Regions from separate parts of the Homo sapiens genome. Here all the other regions are linked to region 3. Evidence: promoter capture Hi-C in 16 types of primary human blood cells and fetal thymus (Javierre and others, 2016). All regions are on one chromosome and are shown on one strand. Each heading gives the region's core, a stretch centred on a gene start or on the middle of the fragment in contact. The rest is flanking DNA. Distances are from core to core; before and after follow the strand shown. Region 1 has its middle 8.1 kb from the start of AKIRIN2. Region 2 overlaps LOC101928911 (a long non-coding RNA gene). Region 3 holds the start of CNR1 (cannabinoid receptor 1).

The links. The method cuts DNA at HindIII sites, captures the fragments that hold promoters and counts their contacts. A CHiCAGO score of 5 or more calls a contact.
Region 1: a contact is called between a fragment that was not itself captured here and the fragment with the promoter of CNR1 in region 3, in 1 of 17 cell types (total B cells). The highest score is 5.0, in total B cells.
Region 2: a contact is called between a fragment that was not itself captured here and the fragment with the promoter of CNR1 in region 3, in 1 of 17 cell types (naive B cells). The highest score is 5.5, in naive B cells.

What each region holds. Positions count from the first base shown.
Region 1 is chr6:87,708,554-87,712,035 of GRCh38, forward strand. No RefSeq gene overlaps it. Among named protein-coding and RNA genes, the nearest start is that of AKIRIN2, 8.1 kb to the left of the region's middle. RefSeq lists an enhancer at 1,649-1,788. The HindIII fragment of the contact is 672 bases long and covers 1,517-2,188 here.
Region 2 is chr6:87,817,992-87,821,508 of GRCh38, forward strand. The region is part of intron 2 of LOC101928911 (a long non-coding RNA gene); the gene reads left to right. Among named protein-coding and RNA genes, the nearest start is that of AKIRIN2, 120 kb to the left of the region's middle. The HindIII fragment of the contact is 4,947 bases long and covers 1-3,517 here.
Region 3 is chr6:88,164,611-88,167,974 of GRCh38, forward strand. It overlaps CNR1 (cannabinoid receptor 1), which reads right to left and starts at 1,737. Exons shown (of 2, transcript NM_016083.6): 1 at 1,193-1,737. RefSeq lists silencers at 1,414-2,093, 2,154-2,593, 2,664-2,863. The HindIII fragment of the contact is 6,129 bases long and covers 177-3,364 here.

The DNA of each region.
Region 1 (3,482 bases), core at 603-3,102, 460 kb before region 3:
CACTTTGGGAGACTGAGGCAAGAGTATTGCTTGCGCCAGGAGTTTCAGACCAGCCTGGGCAATATAGTGAGACCCTATCTCTATTTTTTAAGAAAGTCACAAATATTGCATGTATTTAGCTGAAATCCAGATTTTACTGGGTACCCTGTATTTTATCTGGCAACCCTAAGTAAGGAGCACAAGACAGTGACCATGAATCATCAAGAAAAGCACAAACTATGTTTAGTATGCAGTTCAAAAAATGTGTAACAAACATGATATTAGAAAATATTCTGCCCGGCCATCAGAGAAATGCAAATCAAAACCACAATGAGATACCATCTCACACCAGTTAGAATGGCAATCATTAAAAAGTCAGGAAACAACAGGTGCTGGAGAGGATATGGAGAAATAGGAACACTTTTACACTGTTGGTGGGACTGTAAACTAGTTCAACCATTGTGGAAGACAGTGTGGCGATTCCTCAGGGATCTAGAACTAGAAATACCATTTGACCCAGCCATCCCATTTCTGGGTATATACCCAAAGGATTATAAGTCATGCTGCTATAAAGACACATACACACGTATGTTTATTGCAGCACCATTCACAATAGCAAAGTCTTGGAAGCAAGCCAAATGTCCAACAATGATAGACTGGATTAAGAAAATGTGGCACATATACACCTTGGAATACTATGCAGCCATAAAAAAGGATGAGTTCATGTCCTTTGTAGGGACATGGATGAAGCTGGAAACCATCATTCTTAGCAAACTATCGCAAGGACAAAAAACCAAACACCGTATGTTCTCACTCATAGGTGGGAATTGAACAGTGAGAACACTTGGACACAGGAAGGGGAACATCACACACCGGGGCCTGTTGTGGGGTGGGGGGAGGGTGGAGGGATAGCATTAGGAGATATACCTAATATAAATGACGAGTTAATGGGTGCAGCACACCAACATGGCACATGTATACATATGTAACAAGCCTGCATGTTGTGCACATGTACCCTAAAACTTAAAGTATAATTTTAAAAAATAATAATAATAATAAAAGAAAATATCCTGGCTGGGTGCAGTAGTTCACACCTGTAATCCCAGCACTTTGGGAGGCCGAGGCGGGCAGATCACCTGAGGTCGGGAGTTCGAGACCAGCCTGACGAACATGGAGAAACCCTGTCTCTACTAAAAACACAAAATTAGCCAAGCGTGGTGGCGCATGCCTGTAATCCCAGCTATTCAGGAGGCTGAGGCAGGAGAATCACTTGAACCTGGGAGGCAGAGGTTGTGGTGAGCAGAGATCATGCCATTGCACTCCAGCCTAGGCAACAAGAGCGAAACTCCATCTCAAAAAAAAAAAAAGAAAGAAAAGAAAAAGAAAATATCCCATAGAAGGTATTTAAGATTCAGATAATTTAAAGTTTCAGTTGTTTGGAAAGTTAAATACATGAAATACTTTGGACCATGCATGTTCTATTCACTGCAGAGTGCCAGCTATAAACTAAACAGTAAACATTTGATGAATAATGAAAAGCTTCACACACTATCTCCCCATTGGTGGGGGACCTCAAGCCCCTAAAGGTTGTCTCTAGCCCCGCCTCATCATTTAGTTTTAGAATTCCCTCACACCTTCTACTGCAGCTGTCTGTTCCGTTGTCTTGCTTAAGTCCAAGCCTGACTCAGAATTGGTGTCACTGTCTGTGTCAGGCTCTCGTTCCCTCTTGTGCCTTTTGTCCTGTGGTTCCATGATGCCACCACAAACCTTCTCTGATGAGGCTTTTTGAGAGAATGAGATGATGCCTGCACTTCCCCAATATTTTGGGCTTCCTCTGCAAGCCCATTGTTATAAGGGTTAGCCAGGTGCATGGTGTGAAGGAAATGATAAAAGAGGCTCAACTCTTACCCCAGGAGCAGCTTTCCTAACCCCACCCACTGATAACAAGCATCACCTTGGGACTGATTATTGGTCCCTTGCAGTCCTCAGGGCTTGTGTTAAAGTTAGGGCTTTATAGAGTACTCAAAAAATTGCTAGATTTTATCTGAAACTTGTGTGCCACAGTTTGTTATATATTGTGGCCAGATGAGTACAAGGAATTGTCCCCATCTTGTACTTAAAGGAGACAGTTCACACTCCTGGTATGGTTTGCCTCTGAGTAGTGGGGTCATGGAGTGGGTCCATGGGAATAAGACATTCCTACCTTCAAAGCTTACTTTCTATCTTACAAGCTTGTCTGAAAATTCTTTTTCAAAAGTCCCATTTATCATAATAATTTGGAAAAATAAAATACAATTTTTTTTCTGGAGAAAAAAAGTCATCCCAGTTACCATCAATCTGGAAATTAAAAGCCAGTACATCACACGATACTGTCTAGTGCATAATAAACCCTTAGTTAGCCATGTCTATTATTATCATGCTAAGGAAAACTCCAAAATCTCCCCAAGCCTTTTTGTCTATTAGATTGCCTACAGTCCAGTTACGGCTGCTGAGGTCCAGTTTCTGAGCCAGCTGCCCCCACCACATACACACCCAAGCAGAATGCTGCCAATGACTTTTATTCAATTTTGTCTTCCTCCTGGGTAGTGAGTTTAATTCTCACCTCTGACTGCCTTTCTAGGATGTTCCTTATTATCTTCTATTGTGTTTCAGAGACTTCTTACATGTCTTCGCAAAGAAGAGTGGGAGTTCAGACTCAAAACTGTCAAACTAATATTCCCAACCATTCTCCAGCTGACATTCCAATTCTAATGGAGTCTCAACTTTTAATGTTTTGGTCATGCACAATTGTCAATTTAAAAATTCACAACCCTTCTGAAAGAAAGTCCATGAGTATTCATTGAGAAGAGAATCAGCCAGCCCAATTGAATGTTCTCTGATAAGCATGCAGTACAGGAGTAGTGACTGTCAGGATTATGGCCTAATTTCCAACCTCTAAAACCTACTGTGCCTTTTAGGTTACAACAGAAGATAATAGTGATTGGGTTCATTAAATCTGTGTGTTGGCAGTTTATTTTGGAATATGAAAAGTGACGTGAAAGATGAGATTGGGGTGCACACAAAAATTATTTTGAACACCTAGAGTAGTCTTTCTTGTTTAAACAACCATGTACTGCGAGTCTGCTATGTCTAAGACACTGTTTGACAACACGGAGGCTAGCAAGATGAAGAAGACACTGCCCCTCCCTTACGCTTATAGTCTAGTGGAGGAGAAATGTACACAAATATCACTAGAGAGAGTGCAAAAGAGGGAACTCAGATAACATCTAAAGTTCCCAATCAGTGCAGTTGGGTTTTAGGGTGTGTGTCACTTTAATCCTGCCTAGATAGGTGAGTTACAGCCTAGGTTGGCAATATGTGAGGGGAATATGGCAAAACCTGCAATGACTTTTGCACCAACCTAATAAAAGTTATTGTTTACAGAGGATCCCACCATGGCCCAGGTGTGTTCTCAGCTTATCCTAATAAAAATCCTACATGGTCATAGTGTTAATCCCATTTTA
Region 2 (3,517 bases), core at 652-3,151, 350 kb before region 3:
CAAGGGGCCTTATGTACTTTTGCTCTTCCTCTTGGAACCATGAGAGGCATTCAAGAACAAGTCTAGGCTAGCCTGCAGGATGATGATGGGTCAGATATCCCTGTAGCCTCTGTTGACCACCTTAGCCTCAGAAATAGAGCCACCTAGCTAGGAAGCAGCATGACGGTAAACCAGTGGAGTCCAACCCAAATTGCTGACCAATCCACAGAACTATGAACTAAATAAATGGCTGTTGTTTTAAGCCACTAGGATTTGGAGTAGTGATTACATACTGAAAGCTAACTAATACACAACTTTGGGCTTGGTAATGTGATGAAGTAGGGGAAGAGTACGGAAGATGAGAGATGGAACTTGGGAAAACATGCCATCATGAATTGTGCTCTGATATAAACATGGAAGCAAAATTAAAATTGACTGCAGCACTGCAGAGCAATTCCTGTAACTGTGTGTCTCCAGGCTTCTCCCTCCTCCACCTTCTTGTATCAGTACACTGTCTTCCTCCAGCACACATAATGAACCGTATATTGTTCAATCAATCTGTCTTTTCAGATGTGTCCCTGTTTGGGTTTGTCTCAGAGATAGTAAAAAAGAAAAAAAAGAAAGAAAGACAAAAGGCTTCTGTTTCAAGCATTCTTTTTTTCTGGATGGTTTTTTGAAGTTTGTGGTCAAATTATAACTTGGTAAGAAGCTGGTGGCTCAGCAGCCTAGGCGGTGGTAGGTACTTTTAATTATTCATCAGTATTTATTTGGGAAATTTTGTTTCTTTTTTTCTAGTCTTTTAGCAGAGACTCAATTTATGCCACTCAAATCATTCCAAGGCAATTCATGATTCTTTGAAAGAAACAGGCTTTCTCTTACCCGTTTTTCTGCTCAGCATGTTTTATAAAAATTATTGAGACACTTTTGTTAGCTTAAGGTCCATCTCCCACCCTTTATTAACCAGGAGCTTTGCAGGAGACAGTGCTAATGTGAAGTGTTTTTCAACTATCCCATCAAACAAGGGTTCTGAAGGCTCCTCCCAAGAATGGGGCTCCCTGCTCCTCTTGATATCCTTATGAGAGGCCATTGTGGGAAACAGAAGCTCTGTGGAGCCTTTCATCCCATGAGTTAAGATGGGAGGCTGTGAGGAGGAAGAAAATAGGTTTGGCTTGGGAAGTGTTAAGTTAAAATGTTTGTGGGACATCTAGTATGACATGTTCGGTAAGATGGATAGGGAAAAGGAATCTTGCCTAGGGAGAGTTTAGAATAAGCAAAGAAGCCCAACGTTTGAGGATGAAGTTGGGGAAGAGGAGGCCTCAAAGCCCCAACAAAGCCCAGGCAGTCAGAGTGCAGCACTGGCATTTTCAAAGCACTCTGCCATCATTAATTGGTTAAGTTATAACAGGGCTTTGGGAATTAGATAAGTCTTTGCCCCACTTTTTCTCATTTGAAGATGTTTGTTCAGATAGATGGAGGGGGAATATCTGCCTCTCAGAAAGAGCTTTTGTGGCAGACGTGGCAAGCTATGGGTTTCCCAGTCAGACAGCCTGGGGTGGAGTCCTGGCTGCTCCTCATCGGGGATTTAACACTGGGCAAGTTACTCAGCCTCTCTGAGATGCAGATTTCTGATGTGTAAGTGGGGACTTATGCACTTTAGAGAGTTATGTGAGATTTTAAAAATGAGATTATAGGTGTATGTAAAGATGCCTAGTACACGATATACTGTATACATAACTAATGGCAACTACTGTCATTGTGAAGAATAATGCAAGGGGCTTGGATCTTCTGTTAAGATACATCATAGTTTTCTGTATTACTTAGGCAAAACCAATTTGAACCCTAGTCCTAGAGAGCTCACATTGCTGCCCCTCTTCCTGTCTCCCAATCCCATCCACAGTTCTGATGGGATAATTATTTTACCATCCACACCAGAAAATTTTTAAGTTCCATTTAACAAATTTAATGATCCCCTCCCATTTCTGACTTCTTTGCTTCGGGTAGGCGGTTTCTTCTCTCTCACCCTTGCCAAGGAACCCTTTCTCTATTCCTGATTCAGGTAATCCATTATCATGGCCTCCATTGGTTTTCTTGGTTTCCACTTCACTGTGGACAGGCCTAACTTTTAGAACTCAAAAAGTGAAGAAATCCTCTCTTCCTGGCCACTCTTTTTTTTCTTTTTCTTTGAGACAGGGTTTCACTGTCACCCAGGCTGGAGTACAGTGGAGGGATCTTGGCTTACTGCAACCTCCGCCTCCCAGGCTCAAGGGAACCTCCCACTTCAGCCTCCTGAGTAGTTGGGATTACAGGTGAATGCTACCATGTACGGCTAATTTTTGTATTTTTTGTAGAGGTAGGGTTTCATCATGTAACCCAGGCTGCTTGAACTCCTGGGCTTAAGCTATCCACCAGCCTCGGCCTCCCGAAGTGCTGGGATTAGAGGCATGAGCCACTGCTTGCAGCCCTGAAAATCATTCTTACTGCTATGAGCACATAACTTGCCTTACTGACATTGACAAGTTGTGCAAGCCTTCCCAATCTTTCCTACAGTGTGGCATGCCGAGAAAATGATAACATTTGTAGACAAACTTGGGTAACAGATGAGGTTACTTACGGATAGCGCTCTGTCCAGCTGCCCTGAGGACTGAACATTGTCCAGGGCACATTTCTAAGGTGGGCTGGGTGTTGTTGACCATGAGTAGCTTCATTCAATAGATTTTTATTCATCACTGTGCTAGCCCTAGTTATATAATGGTGGACAGAACTCATTTCCTGCCCCCCAGGAGCTGTATTCCCTTAGTACACATGTTAACAGAAATGTCGAGGTGGCAAAATATAGTAGAAAGAAATTGGTCTTTGTGGAATCTGTCAGTTTTGGGTTCAATTCTGGTTCACCCATTTGCTAGCTAATGTGAACTCGAGCAAATTACTGAACTTCTCTGATTTTTAGTTTCTTTTTCTTTTTCTTTTCTTTTCTTTTTTTTCTTTCTTTCTTTCTTTTTTTTTTTTTTTTTTTTTGAGACAGAGTCTTTCTCTGTTTCTCTGTTGCCCAGGCTGGAGTGCAGTGGCTCGATCTTAGCTCACTGCAACCTCCGCCTCCCGGATTCAAGCAATTCTCCTCCCTCAGCCTCCCAAGTAGCTGGGACTATAGACGCAAGCCACCATGCCTGGCTAATTTTTGTATTTTTAGTAGAGACGGGGTTTCACCATATTAGCCAGGCTGGTCTTGAACTCCTGACCTTAAGTGATCTGCCCGCCTTGGCCTCCCGAAGTGCTGGGATTACAGGCGTGAGCTACCGTGCTCGGCCAAATTTCTTATTTAGTAAAATGGAGGCTATAAATCTTCCTGCAGGCTTGAAGGTAGGGAAGAGGAGGAGTTTAATGAGAAATGTTAATTTTGATCCCTATTTATAAATAGGAGGATTTATCTGCAAATGACCAGTTGAGTTCTTTCCAAAAATTCCTGAACACATTCTGAAGGCCTAGGACAATTTTCATCTTGACTGTATTAGAATATAAATGGTATATCACCCCTGACTCC
Region 3 (3,364 bases), core at 487-2,986:
AAATCAATTAGTGTATCTTCCCTTGCAAACTGTCAGTAGGGTAGGATTAGAAAAGCAACACTTTAAATCACATAAAGTCCTATGGGAACCTTAAAGGTTGGTTGCTCTGAGCTTCTCAATATTCTGCAAAATAGATTGATGTCAGTGGTGACCCCACTAATACTCAGTGTCCGCTAAGCTTCCTCTAAGAAATTGCATTTCCCCCATTGTTCAAAAGATATTAACTTGGTAATAAAAATGAGGAGAAGTTATGGGACCCACAGAGATATCTTTCAACACCTTTAAAACCAGTAAATCTGTTCTAATCTCTTATTGGATTACATGCCCGAGGAGGCTTACTATATCAGGAAATCAACAACAAAGGCAAGAATAGCACTTATTTGGAGGAAAATAAAAAAAGATGGGAGGCAAAATGATTAATACGTTACTAAACATTTCTTTTGTTTTTTTATCTGTTCAATTTTAAATATCTGAGAGACAATCTATTAAAATCAGAAACATGCATGTTGCTTTTAAACTTCCAAATGACCAAATGACAGTTTCTCATGTCTATTACAGCAAACATATTTTTATTTGAGAGGTGATCCGTTTATGATTTGTAAGCCTTAACAAGAAATGTCTTTTAAAAATGCAACATTAACTTTAGTCATCTAACAGCTAGTTCTGAGTTAAACGGTTCCATCAACATTCAATTTTAGGTATTAGTTACATGGACATTTGTTTTTCCTCAAAGAGAAGTGGTTCCTGTAGCTTTTTATCAAAAGTTTATTATTTGACATACATCTCTTTATATGACATTTACTATTTTACATTAGTCAGTTTCTAGGCTTGCAGCAGAGATCGATGTATTTCCCTGGGAAGACTTAGCTGCTAACATGGTTTATAGGCATTCAGCACCAACTCAAGCGCCCGTTTTTCAAACATGCACAATTACCCATTTTCTACAAACAGACATCAGTGCATACAGAGCCAGGTGCACACACATTCAATAAATAGTAAATGGTAGAAATCTCCAGAAGTAGAACAGATCACAGTTAACAGGCTGGGGCCATACAGCTAAGTAAACACCGACGCACGATTCGCTCACACGGAATAAGAACTCCACGAAGGACACTTGGGGACCACACTGGTCGTACCCGAGGGGGCGGGAGGCGGAAAAAGTATTTCCAAACGCAACTCTGCCAGGTCTTACCCTTCGCATCCCCTGGTCCTCGGGACAGAAGCTCCCTTGGCACCTCTCGCCCAGCTCAGGGGCTGGTTGTCCGCTAGAACGAAATATCCCCCACTGACTACGGAGAGCTCTGCAGGGAGCCGAGGCCCCCGCCCGGGCCAAGGGAAGGCGCTGGCGCCGCGGGAGACAAGAAGAGGCGGAGGCGGAAAAGAAGTGGAGAAGGAAGGGGTGGCAGAGGGAGTAGCGTGCGGGAGGCGGCGCCGGCGCCGGGCTGCTGGCGAGGCGGGGTGGGGTGGAGTGGGGTGTGCCTCCGGCGGGCGGTCAGCAAGTCAGTCCGTCCGAGCGCCGGCGTCCCGGTCTCCAGCGCCCGCCCGCGACAGCGACCGGGACTGGCGCCCCGCTGCTCCGACCGCCGGCGAGCCTCGCCCCTTCCCAGGCTCTTCACTGGGTCCTCCCGCGAGCCCCGCCTGGCCCGGCGTGGGGCCGCCCGTCTCCGCCAGCCCGGGCGCCCGTCGCCTCGTCCCGCTCGCGCAGTCCCTGCCGCTCCCTCCGCTCGCGCTGTCTCTGGCTCCCTCTCGCTCCAGTCCCATTTATGAAGCGCGGTCCCATCACGTGTTAATGAGCCTTTGTCCTGCCCTGGCAGCGGCGGCGGCACAGACCCCGCCGAGGGAACTGCGCGGGGAGGGACCTGAGCGCAGCGCCCGTAGCCCCAAACTTTGCTTGGGGCGGGGGACCCGCCGCGGCGCCAGCCCTGGGGCCAGAGGGGACAAGCCTCTTCGGCCCGCGTCACCTACTTCTCCTCTTCCTCCTCCTCCTCCGCCGCCGCGCTCCCGGAGGCCCCCGCTGCCATGACCTCGCTGTGCTCCCGGATACCCTCACACCCTGACCAGGCCAAGAAGGGGCTGGTGCATGCGCCGCCCACGACCTCGGGGCCATTAATCACACGCTCCCGGGCAGCGCGCATCGCCAACACCTTCCGCGGGGGTCACGTCTGGGGCAGCGGGCTGAGCCGGAAGGGGAAGGGGAGCGGGAGCCCAGAGGCCGAGGCGCGCCGGGCCCGGGGGTGCGGTCTCGCGCCCCCTCCCTCCGCGCAAGGCCGCTCCCGTGGCAGGCGGCAGCGAGCTGGGCCCGGGGCCGGGCTGAGCTTTGGGACCGCGCTGCGCAGCCCCCGAGCCGTTCGCTACCTGGCTGCGGTCGCGCGGCCACCTGTCCTCCGCCCTCGGGGCGCCGCCCAGCTTCGCGCCAGGCGCCTTCTCCAGCGCCCGCCGCCCTTTCCCGGCGAGACCACTCGGGCGCGCCCCGCCCGCCGGTCCCCGATGCAAACAGTTGGGCTCCGTAGGCGGCTGGCTCCGCGCCTCCCGGCCCGGCGCGCCCCCTCCCCGGCCACCCGGGGCCCCGCTCCTCGCACCTTTTCGCTGGAGGAGGACGCCCCACTCCAGGGCCGGACTGGGGGCTCTGGGACTCGGGGGCGGCAGCGGCGGGCGCCTGGGGAGCCGCGGTGTGCTCAGCAGCCGCGGCAGGAATTAGGGGACATGCTCGTTAATTGTTTCCACTATCAGCCGCCGTCTGCCTCCTGTGTGCACGGATCAAACCTTAATTGGTCTTTACATTTATCATGGTGAATTGCGAACCTCCAAACAAGCCTGGGCCGCCGCTTCTGCCGAGGAGGCGCTCCCCTCCCCTCCGCCCCCGGGGCCCTGCAGGGTGTGCGGCGGCGGTCGTGGTTATTTAGACATCTTTATCTCTCGTGAGTTGGATCGGGAGAGGATCGCACGGTTTCCACCTGACGGAGCCACGTCACGTCGGCCACAAGGGCCCCGTGCTGGGCGCTGGGTTCGGTTCCCGGCCGTCCTCTTGTGGCCGCCTTGGCGTTCATTTTATGACACCTTGCCGGTGTTCCCAGACATCATCCCGCACCGCTCCGTTTTACCGACCTCCAGGTCTTCCCGCCCCTGATCAGACCCCAACAGCAACCGTACTATATCTGGACCCTATATTTGAACTACGTGGTGAGAATCTGTGAAAGCGAGCCTCTCAGGGAAAGAAGGAAGATTGTTGAGTTCAAGGTCCTGGAGGAGGGAAGGCTGTAAAACCGTTTTGGAAACGTCAGGCCAAATCGTACAAAGGCTTCCCGCAGAGCACTAGTGCAGTTTTTGAAAATCCCCCTAGACTGCTTTAGACTAGAAGTATTTC